2 separate regions of the Homo sapiens genome follow, and region 2 is linked to region 1. The links are contacts of gene promoters, found by promoter capture Hi-C in human tissues and cell types (Jung and others, 2019). All regions are on one chromosome and are shown on one strand. Each heading gives the region's core, a stretch centred on a gene start or on the middle of the fragment in contact. The rest is flanking DNA. Distances are from core to core; before and after follow the strand shown. Region 1 holds the start of LYZL2 (lysozyme like 2). Region 2 overlaps ZEB1 (zinc finger E-box binding homeobox 1).

What was found. The method cuts DNA at HindIII sites, captures the fragments that hold promoters and counts their contacts. A contact is called where the count stands out against the background at its distance.
Region 2: a fragment that was not itself captured here is called in contact with the fragment with the promoter of LYZL2 in region 1 in 2 of the 25 tissues and cell types used here (dorsolateral prefrontal cortex and mesenchymal stem cells).

The regions. Positions count from the first base shown.
Region 1 is chr10:30,626,773-30,632,958 of GRCh38, reverse strand. LYZL2 (lysozyme like 2) reads left to right here and starts at 3,206. Exons shown (of 5, transcript NM_183058.3): 1 at 3,206-3,366; 2 at 6,019-6,182. The coding sequence starts at 6,044. The HindIII fragment of the contact is 10,435 bases long and covers 1-4,946 here.
Region 2 is chr10:31,432,370-31,438,555 of GRCh38, reverse strand. The region is part of intron 1 of ZEB1 (zinc finger E-box binding homeobox 1); the gene reads right to left. Among named protein-coding and RNA genes, the nearest start is that of ZEB1, 120 kb to the right of the region's middle. The HindIII fragment of the contact is 3,845 bases long and covers 1,495-5,339 here.

The DNA of each region.
Region 1 (6,186 bases), core at 1,957-4,456:
TTAAGATTCATCCACATTGTTGCAGGAATCAAATAGCTCATTCCTTTCATTGCTGAGTAGTATTCCATTGTATGGCTAGATCCCGGTTTTTAAATATATTTGCCTGTTGAAGGTCATCTTGGTTGCTTCCATTTTTTAGTGATTATGAATAAAGTTGCTATAAACATTGGTTAGCTTGTTTTTGTGTGAACGTAAGTTTCTGATTCACTTGATTAAATACCTAGGCGTGTGATTGTTGATTTATATAAGTCTGTGTTTAACTTTATAAGAAACTGCCAAACCGTTTTCCAAAGTGACTGTACCACTTTGCATTTCCACCAGTGATAAATGGGAATTCTTACGGTTCTCTGTCTTCATCATCATTTGGTGTCGTCTGATTGATTTTAGCAATTCTAATCAGTGAGAAGTGATATCTAATTGTGGTTTTAATTTATACTTCCCTGGTGACAATGATATTGATCATCTTTTCATATGCTTATTTGTCATTTGGATTTCTTATATGATGAAGCGTCTGCTTAAATCAGTTGCCCATTTTTTAATTGGGTCATATGTTTGCTTATGGTAAAATTTTAAGAGTTCTTTATATATTCTGAATACAAGGCTTTCATCAGACATGTGATTTATAAATATTTCTTCCAGTCTGTAGCTAGTCTTTTCATTCTCTTAACAGTGTCTTTCAAAGAGCAAACATTTTTAATTTTGATCAAGTCCAACTAAACGTTTTTTTTTTCTTTCATGGATTGTGCTTTTGTTGTTGTGTCTAAAATGTTATTGCCAAACCCAAGTCCTGCTGATTTTCTATGTTTACTTATAGAATTTCATAGTTTCATTTTTTACTTTTATGTCTTTGATCCATTTTAGATTAATTTTTATATGAGATATAAGGTATGTATTCTTCAATATGCCTTCTTTTATTTTGTTGGTTTTGAACATGTGTTTTGAGCATAGACAGTCTTATTTTAGTACCATTTGGTGAAAAGAACATCATTTTTCCATTGAATTTAATTAGCATCTTTATAAAAAATGTTGTTGACTAAATATTCATAGATCTATTTCTGGGTTCTCTCTTCTGTTCCACTGGTCTATGGGTCTATCTTCCCACCAATATCATTCTCTCTTGATTACTACAGCTTTATATTGTCTTAAAATCATGTAGAATGAGTCCTTCAATTTTGTTCTTTTTCTGAATAGTTTTGTTTATTGTAGTCCATTTGCCCTTCCGTATAAGTTTTAAGATCATCTTATTGATATTTTCAAAACAATTTTCTGGGATTTTAATTGGAATTCCATTAAATCTATAGATTAAATCTTAACAACATAGAATTTTTAAATTCAGGAACATGGTATTTCTTTTCCACTTAGGTCTTCTTTAGTTTTTCATCTGTCTTACAGTTGTCAGAATATATATCCTGCACAGATTTTGTTAGGTTTACATTTAAGTACGTCATATTCTTGTGTGTGCTGTTGTAAATGATATTTTTTATTTTAGAAGAATCTAAAATATTTTGATTCCTAGTATATAAGAATAGAAATGGCTTTTGTATATTTACTATGTATCCGAAAACTTGCTAAACAAGCATTTTTGAAAAAAAAGACAATCTGTCTCTATTTTCTCATTGACTATAAAATTCCTATTTCAAAGCACTTTGAAAAAGATGTTTGAAGAAAAACCTATGTATTTTCTCGTATTATAGACAATTCACAAGAAAAAGCACACAGGCCAGATGCCGTGGATCATGCCTATAATTTCAGCACTTTGGGAGGTTGAGGCGAGCAGATTGCTTGAGATCAGGAGTTTGAGACCAGTCTGGCAGACATGGTGAAACACCATCTCTACTAAAAATACAAAAATTATCTGGGCGTGGGGGCACATGCCTGTAATACCAGCTACTCGGGAGGCTGAGGCACGAGAATCGCTTCAACCTGCGAGGTGGAGGTTGCAATGAGCCGAGATCACACTACTGAGCTCCAGCCTGGACAACAGAGGGAGACTCTGTCTCAATTAAAAAAAAAAAAAAAGAGAGAGAGAGAGAGAAAAAAGTCCACAAATGGCTTCTGAAGATAAGAAAAGATGCTCAGACAGCTTGAAATAAGGGAAGCTGAAATTGAAACTTTGCTGACAAATTATGTTTCATCTCTAATATTAGCAAATATCTTAACCTTTGGTAATAGGGTATGCTAGCCATCTTCGTCATACAAGCCCACGTGGAAGGCAATTTGGCAATATCTAGCAAAATTACAAAATTACAGTCCTTAACCCAGCAATTCAATTTCCAGGAATGTATCCTACAGATATTCTTGCAAATGTACAAATGACAAATGTACAAGATTACTAATTGTAATATGTTTATCATAGAAGAAAAAAATACCTTAAGTGTGAGTCAATATGGAATTGGCTAAATATGTTATATCTACACAATGTAATACTATATAAACTTAAAACTAGATTTCAACAAGATCTTTGCATTATTTGCAGATGGAATTTAATAAAATACAATAATTAGTTAGGTACAACTAACAACAAACTTATACTGAGATCTACATATTCCAATGAGAATTCATTTCAAATGTGTCATTAAATCTGAACACAGAAATAAATGGACCTTCAAACTAGCTCTTTATTGAGTCACAAAGTGTTAAGCCAAATTTTTAAAAAACAATGAAATCATGTTAATTATACATAAAAATTTTTTATTTCTTTTGTGGCCCTCCTTTGACAATATTTTATTAATTAACAATATAACTATAGCAAAGAAATGTGCTGTTAATTAATTTTTAATGTTAATTTCACCTCTCATTCATTTTCAGATTTTAGTTTTGTGTATGTTGATAATTTATGTAGCATATTAGTACAGAGGTACAGAAGTGTGATTTATAATTTAATATACATCTAAAGAGGATACATGCTTAACTTTATTAATGGAATTTGTGATAAAGTTTGCAGACTGTTGCCTTAGAGAAGAGCTCTCACTTGGACGGGAGGCCCTGGCCAAGTTGTGTAGTGAGGACAGTTGTTGAGAGGAAAAGAGAAAAAACGAGAGGTATTAAGGCCCAGAAGAGAGTTAGCACCTGCTTCAGAACACAAGCGTGCAGGATGATATAGCTTTTAGTGCCAAGAAGTAGAATTCTAGCATCTCTAGGTGGTGAGAAACAAAGGACTAAGAATTTTTCTTTCTCTAACACTCTAAAGAAAGGTTCTTGAGCTAGGAAAGGATTACTCGAGCCTTGTTAGAATCAGACATGGCTTCAGGGGATGCAGGACGCTCCCCTGAGCTGCCTGTCACCGACTAAGTGGAGCAGTGTTTCTTCCGCAGACTCAACTGAGAAGTCAGCCTCTGCGGCAGGCACCAGGAATCTGCCTTTTCAGTAAGACCTAAATTACTCTTATGAAGCCACCTGTCCCTGAGAACCAGCAATGGCAGGTTCTTGAAGGATGTAGAACATGATGCTTGGGGTTATCATTGCTACGGGTTTTGTTTTGACTTGTTTGAGATCAGTTAACATTCTAAGGCAGAGGATGGAAACCAACCTTATTTGTAAGCTCTGCATCTTTTTTTTTTTTTTTGAAACAGGATGTCACTCTGTTGCCCAGGCTGGAGTGCAGTGGCACAATCACAACTCACAACAGCCTCAACCTCCCAGCCTTAAAAGATCCTCCCACCTCAGCCTCCCAAACAGGTGGGACCACAGTCACACACCACTATGCCTGGCTAATTTTTGTGTATTTTGTAGTGACAGAGGTCTACCTTTGTTGCCCAGGCTGGTCTCAAACTCCTGGCTTCAAGCAATTTGCCCTTTTCACCCTCACAAAGTGCTGAGATTACAGGTGTGGGCCACCATGCCCAGCCTAAGCTCTGCATCTTAAACCTCGTTTGTCTGTCCCTCACAGCTTAGCACAATGCTGTACACCACGGACTGGCATGATCTCTCTGAAAAGGGCCAGATAATAATATGTTAGGCTTTGTGGTCTATACAGCCTCTAACACAGCTACTCAACTCTGCCACTGCAGCAGGAAATCAGCCACCAACAATATATTACCAAATGATGAGAGTAGCTATGTTTCAATAAAACTTTACATACAAAAGCGGGCCTGGTTTGCCCACGCTTGCTATTCACGTTTGTAATGTACATGCCCCTCATGCAATGCAGTTCCTTATCTTATTGCTTAGTCACCTTAAAGCCCTGCTTGTTACTCGGTGCGGTGGCCTTGCTGATGACTACTTATCCCTGTTTTGGGCCTAGCCTTTCAATGCAGGAATCCAGCCCCAGGGAGAGAAACTAATGACTAGAGAAGTTTCCAGGCAAGTGCAGAAAATGACACGGGATGAACATATGTAAGAACATCAAGTTCAGGATCCCGAGTAGTTGTCAGAAATTTCACTTCACCCCATCCCAGCAAGGCTGTTGTGTTTGGGGAAGACATTATTTTAAGAGGGGAGGAGATTGTGGAAAATCAGTAGGCAGCAGGAGACAGCGCTCTTGATCCTACTCCCATTTCAGACGATTCTATGGGGGCCTCTTTATTGTCCCTCTGCTCCCCCAGGTGCTTTCCTCCTTTCATGAGGCTTTGTCCTCCATCCCTCTTGCTCCCCAGTCAGGTGCCAGACTTTTAGGAGGCCGCCCGGAGCACTGGTTGTGAAGCTTAGCAAAGCAATGCATTTGCAATCTAAGATAAAACACTAGTACTTTGGAAGCAATGCTCCCACATTTTGAAATGCATCAAGAAAAGAAAAGGAAAGATTAGGTGCTTAATCTTCACCCTTCAATAAACCCCCAAACGATGAATCTTTTTTTTTTTGAGGCGGAGTCTCGCTCTGTCGCCCAGGCTGGAGTGCAGTGGCGCAATCTCCGCTCACTGCAAGCTCAGCCTCCTGGGTTCACGCCATTCTCCTGCCTCAGCCTCCCGAGCAGCTGGGACTACAGACACATGCCACCACACCCGGCTAATTTTTTTGTATTTTTAGTAGAGACGGGGTTTCACCGCATTAGCCAGGATGGTCTTGATCTCCTGACCTCGTGATCCGCCCGTCTCGGCCTCCCAAAGTGCCGGGATTACAGGCGTGAGCCACCGCGCCTGGCCTAGACGATGAATCTTAAAGTTTTCCATTCAGGTCCACGTGTATTTCATCTCTGGCTGAAATGGGGTGTCTGTTTCTACACACCCAGTTGATCCTTGAACAAATGTAGGGGTCGGGGTGCCAATGCCTGCTCAGTTGAAAATCTGCATGTAACTTTTGACTCCCCAGAAGCTTAACGACTAATAGCCTACTGCTGACTGGAAGCCTTACCAATAACATGAACAGCCAATAAACACATATTTTGTACGTTCTATGTCTATACTGGATTCTTACAATAAAGTAAGCTAGAGAAAAGAAAATGTTATTAAGAAAATCATAAGGAAGAGAAGATATATTTACTATTTGTAAATATTAACTATTTGTTAATAGTAAATATTTACTATTATATTATATTTACTATTTGTTAAGTGGAAGTGGATCATCATAAAGGGCTTCATCCTGGTGGTCTTCACACTGAGCAGGCTGAGGTGGAGGAGGAAGAGGAGGGGTTGGTCTTGCTGTCTCGGGGTGGCAGAGGCAGAAGAAAATTCACGGATAAATGGACCCACGCAGTTCAAACCCATGATGTTCAAGGGTCAGCAGTATAGGGAATGTTTCACCCCTGTATTCTATTTTTCATTCATAGAATTAAAATAGAAATCCTAAAAATGCCCCTTGTGGTTTTCACCTGGATGTGTATTAAGGAAGGTTAATTTTTTCACTTACTTAACCCTGAGAACACAGCATTGACTTGAAAGTTACTGTATGGAAAAGCATTAAGGAGACAGCCTGCAGTCACATTCCTTCCCTGGACCGTAGAGTGGCCGGTTTTCCCTGATGGTGGCACTGAATGACCAAAGTGACAGGCAGCATCTAGGCAGGGCTGTGCACAGTCACCGATGCTGGATTTCGAAGTTCCTGAATCAAGATCGTCTGACCTGTTCTCCGGCTCTTTGGCAGGTTCTGTCTCCGGCAGGCTTTGAGGATGAAGGCTGCGGGCATTCTGACCCTCATTGGCTGCCTGGTCACAGGCGCCGAGTCCAAAATCTACACTCGTTGCAAACTGGCAAAAATATTCTCGAGGGCTGGCCTGGACAATTACTGGGGCTTCAGCCTTGGAAACTGTGA
Region 2 (6,186 bases), core at 2,168-4,667, 810 kb before region 1:
TCTCTTCCTTAACATTTTTATGTTATTTGAATTTGTTATCACGGTGAATAGGAGGTATAATTAAAAACACTAATCAGGATACTGAAATAAAATCTAAAGAATAATGAAAGGTAAAAAGGACATTTATTAGTTGATGAATACTATGTTGTAAATAAATATCTGTGGATTTTGAAATAAAACAATTTTTATTTTATGGTTTTATGAGACAATAATAAGATCTATTTTCTTATTTTTGAAAGATAGTAGTCTATTTAAAGTATGAAAAACATTTACCTTTCCTATTCATGGCTACATAACATTATATAAAATGAAAAGGAAGGTAATACTTGCTGAACACCAGCACAAGTGACTTCTCCTTCCAGCTAGTGCTGAGGGAAGCTGCTCTCTTACTGCACAGACGCCAGGAGGGAGGCCTCGTGGAGAGCGCACGCTTTCACTTGTCAAGGGCAATGAGCATCCCCAAAGTACAGGTTATAGTATCTCACATACACCCAAACACACAGTCAATTATTTAAATAGTTTCAACCACAGGAGTTGGCATGATTTTCAGCTTTTCTCATCTTATGAAAAAATTTTAAGAAATATTTTGACATTTACTAATCCCAGAAGGTAATTCTCCTTTGATTGGCTTTGAGGCTTATCGATTAGTAGCAGAACTGGTTGTGAAAAATAAGATGAAGGAAGAGGACAAGAATTACATTCTAATTCATTTTATTTGGTTCTCCAAGATTCCTTCAAACTAGTAATGCTGTATGTGTAATTTAAAACTCCTGACCATGGGAAGAGAAATCATAGGAAAAGTGAAAAGAAAAAGATCATGAACCCCAAGGATGTAGTTTGAGGACGGATCCTCCCTTACTTCCATGGGAATGACAACATATAGTAATCTAAGTAAGGCTTATTGGTTGCCAACTAGGAGACTTCCTTTCTGGGAGCTTTCCTGAGAGCCAAATTTCAACATGGGACACTAATTCCCTGAGCCTAGTTTTGTAAAGAAAGTCTTTCTACTCCTTCATTGGAAAGACATGAAAGAACAAGGGGGATAATTAATGAAATTTTAATTGGAATTTATTTCCTGATGAAGTATTAAAAACAAACAATTTATAGGTAACTAGAGTTTAGTTTTACTGAGCTTTTCTAAGCATTATAATATGTTACAAGCTTGAGTTGTCAAATTAGAATGAATAATTTAGTTCCTCTGACTTAAGTGCTTCAGAAGATAGGAGAATGAAGACATTTAATATCTAGTCTCCACCTCTGAGATATACGTAATCTTTGCAAATATGAGTAATATACATGAAGTATTATATAGAGAAATGTCATAGTACATAATTAAATGCTAAATTAAAAGTGATGCAGAAAATAAATACTATAAGAATCCTTACCTAATTATATTAATCTCTCTTTTATGCCTTGCTAATGTGCAACAGAGGTAAAATTGAGTATTTTGTTTCTTTGTTATTTAAAATATATTGTTGGGAAGTTAAATAAATTTGAACTGTAGTACCAAAAAATCCTGATGTTTTGTTTTACCTAAGTTACCTGAGTAGCAGTGTGAATTAAAATCATCTGTGGACATAACTTATTCCAGAAAATAAATAATATCCAATAAAGCAGAAGATCATGCAAACTAACTACCCATTTTCTTATATAAACTTTTTGGAGAATAAGTGGGCTTTGTGATGAAAGAAGTGGACATTCTTGGAAAACACAAACAAATAGAAAATTTAATACCATATATAAAAATGAAGTGGGAAATAGGTATTTTAAACGTACTTTAAAGAAATTATGACCTGTCACATTTCTACTACTGATATATAGAAAAGCTTACAACCAATGCTCCTCGTATACTTCTGCACCCTGCTTCAACCCTGATCCACAAAGTGCTTATTACATATTCAGTGCTTTATATGCACTGAATCCATTAATCCTTACAGAAGCCACTTGAAGAATTTTTATTATCCTTATTTTATAGACAATGAAACTAAGACTTAGATTACATAACTTGCCAAAGGTTGACCAGTTAGTACTGGTAACCAGGACTGTACCCTAGGCCATGTGGCTCCGGACATGCTCTGAACAGGTTACTGTGCTGTCTCTCCAAAGACAGCAGAAGAGTAGAGCCCATAAATGAAAAAAAAGTCCTTACAAAAAAACAAAACAGAATAAAAGTGTGGTTCCCAATGAATTATTAAAGACTTCATTGACAAGTACTTAATCAAATCTTTCTGAACTTCTCAGAATCTAAGATGATAAAACTTAAAGCACCCTTATTATTCTCCTTTACTTCAGAATGAAAATGAAGGACATACATAATAATCACAAAACTTCAGGTCAAGAGATTGTTTTGTTCTCTTGATTCGAAATTTCAGATGGCTCTCCATTGCATATGCCATAAATTCCAAACTCCCATACATGGCGAATAAGGGTCTCCCGACTGCATACATTATCGCTTAAACAATCTCTTCATCTTCACTTGCTACTGTTCTGCAAAGTATATTCAATTTCCCAGACATCCTGAACTTTCATGCTTCTGCTATGTATTCTTCCTCTTCTCTAGGGGCAAATTCCTACTCATCTTTTGGAACTCATATCCCGTCTATCATCAACAATCCTCTCCAGGCACCAATGCCACTAGTTTGCTTCCGCCTGTAAACTTCCTCCTCAGGACTACAATACCATGTCATTGGTCCCTTGTTTCCATTTACCACACAGCAGCCGGGGTGATCTTTCAAAAATGTAAAGCAAAATGTATCACTCTCCTTCTTAAAACCTTTCAATGGCTTTCCATTGTTCCATCATTCCTGCAAGGCTCCACATTTTTGGGCCTGCACCTTTTCCACTATTCTATTCATTCTCGCTAAATGACCTGTTTTTGTTCTTTGTAAATGGCAAGCCTTCTCTACTCCATGCCCCTACACTTGCCTTTCCCTTGGCCTGAGATTCTGTTTCCAACTCCACACAGCTGGGTCTTTCTTTTCCACTCCAGTGTCATAGTTCCAAAGAAGACTTCCATGATCACCTAAACCAACATGCTTTATCCTTTACTCTTTCACATCATCCTATTTCCTTCAAAGCATCCATCGTAGTTTGTAATTATCTTGTTTAGTTACTTGTTTACTTTCTTTTACTCTGTATTAGTTTTCTATTGTTGATGTAACAAACTGACATATCCCTAAGAGGCTTAAAATAGCATACATTTATTATTTCACAATTAGATGCCCAATATGGGTCTCACTGGACTAAAATCAAGATGTTGGCAGAACTGTGTTCTTTCTGGAGACTCTAGGGGAGAATCCACTTTCCTGCCTTTTCCAGCTTGTAGAGGCTGCTGCATTCCTTGGCACATGGCCCCTTCCATCTTCAAAGCCAGAAATGGCCAGTTGAAACTTTCTCATGTCGCATCATTCTGCCACTGACCCTTCTTCAAACTCCAGCTTCCACTTTTAACATTGCATTTTGCCTAGCCACATAACCCGAAGTAATCTCCCTATTCCTTTGCTACTTAATAATCTTTTTTTAAGTAATGTAACATATTCACAGGTTTTAGGGATTAGGACATGGACATATTTGGGAGGCCACTATCCTACCTACCACACTCCCCCACTAAAATGTAAGCTCCATGAGGGCAAGGACATCATTTTGTTCCCTCCAGTAGTCTAAATTCCAAGCTTTACAGGGCATAACAAAGGCATATAAGACATCTGTTGAACTAATGAACAAACTAAAACACTGCTGCTTTATTGATGCTCTTCTTGACCTTTCCTGACTCTTGTTCTTTGCGCTTTTGTATTATTTTTTATTCCGCTACAATAGTGACTATATCCCTTCATGTTTACATTATGTTCACATCTATCATTAGGTCTTTGGTCAAGTGTTCAGTGTTCTGATCATGTGTCAGTAAAGGATTAAGTGTTATGAAAAATGTATTGACTCAACGAATTTTAAAATGAAAGGGACATAAAGTTTCAAAAAGTTTATGTTAATGATTTGGTAATTGTTTTTATGGCTTCCTAATAAAATTCAGAGTATTCTGATAATGTGTCAATAAAGGGTTATCCTGCTGTGAAATATATGTTTATTTAATGAATTTTAAGCCTGGTTAAGCATCTGAAGATATGTCTCAGCTTCGTATTTTATACTTGAGAAAACTGAAATCCAAATAAGTTAAGTAATTTATCTAGTTATATAAAAATTGTGAGCTGGCACTAATTCCAGTTAACTTTCTATAAAACCTACCTCCTAAGGTTACCATGAAGATTCCGTGAATGCATTTAAAAGCACATAAACACAGTGCCCAGCACATAGCAGTGCTTTATAGTGGGGGCACAGATGCTTTATTGGCATGATCATTATTCTAAACATTACATATTGCCCACTTATCAACAACAAAAATAACTTATGCAAAATAGTTAATAAATAATTGCTGAATCAAAGAATGATTTTAAAAGTAACATGGTTAAATAATTTTTAACATGCTAATTGCTTTCCTACTTTTATTTTTATAGAAAAAAGCAGGTAAAGAAAAATAAAGTAGGGCATGCATATTACATTGATCTTTATCATGGAGTCTTCTTTAACTTATTTGAACTAAAAGCAATTTCTTTCCTCCATTATTGTCTTTTCAGCAAGGTCAAAACCATTTTTATAATAATACTAAGGCAGTACTTGCCCTTTTCACTTCTTTGGCATTTGCACTGATGATACAAAGACAATGGTAGGTCAAACTGTTGGCATCTTAGCACTTACCAAGGCAGCAGCAGCAAACTATATCCTTGTAGCCCTCACTGCCACTCATTTCCAGTTAAAAAATTTGCCAGTTTCACTTAAGTACATCCTTGATGAAGTAGTAAAAATTACTTTAATAAGTTTTGACCCTGTAGTGTATGTCTTTTTAGTGTTCTGTACAACAAAATGGGATGTATACACAAAACACTTCTGCTGGACATCAAAGTATAACAGATGTCTTATGGAAAATCACTCCTGGAATTAAGTTGCTACCGAAGTAGCTGCTTTTTTCATGGTACATCTATTTAACTTGAAAGAATAACCAACTGACAAACAATGGTTATTCAGGTTTGAGTATTTGGCAGATATTTTCTCAAAAATAAGCCAAATAAGCCTGTCATTTAAAGGAAGACAAATTGGCCAAATTTGTTGCCAATAAAATTTGAGCTTTCAGATGTAAATGAGAATTTTGGAAAACATGTTAACTGCAGCTGAGTTGAATTTTGCAATTTCCTAATTTTGAAGACCCTTCTGAAGAGATTGGTGCTGCTATTAGTGATTTTTTGATTGGGTAAAATGGAATGTGTCAACATTTGGAAGATCTGGACAATTCAGTGAACCAATATCTTCCAAATAACTAATGCATGATGTTGCAAATTAGTAAGTGGGTAAAAGGCCCACTCAAAGTTCAAGAGAGCAGTGATTTTTTAATGTAACTATAAAATTCATTGATATGGTTTTATATTTTACATCACAACTAAACTTTAAGAAACTGCTACTTGGTGAGTTTTGGTAATCAAAGAATATCCACAATTATCTAAAAAGGCTAATTCCAACTAACTATCTATGTGAGGTTAGGTTTTAATACAGTTCAACACATTGCAACAGCTAGAATATAGAAGCAGATATGAGAATTCAACTGCCTTCTATTAACCCACACATTAAAGAGATTTGTAAACATGTAAAACAATGCCACTCTTTTTTAAAAATAGCTTTTCCTCAAAGATATTTTATGTTAACATGTAGTAACTTTAAGAATGAATAAATATTTAAAATTTTTCTATTTTTAATGCTGTAAATATCAGTAAATATAACCCACATAGTCAAAAGCACTCTGGGGCCGTAAATCACTTTTAAATGAAGGGTTCCTGAGACAAGCATCTTTTGAGAATTGTAGAATTTAATAAGGTTAGCCACTAATCAAATGTATCTATTCACACTGAATTAAAAAAAAATTGAGACAGGGTATTGCGCTCTGTTGCTCACGCTGGAGTGCAGTGGCATGATCACAGCTCATTGCAGCCTCAACCTTCCAGGCTCAAGACATCCTCCTTCCTCAGCCTCCTGAGTAGCTGGGACCACAGGCACACAGTACCACACCTGGCTAATTTTTAAATTTTCTGTAGAGACAGGGTTTTGCCATATTGCCAAGGCTAGTCTCAAACTCCTGGGCTTAAG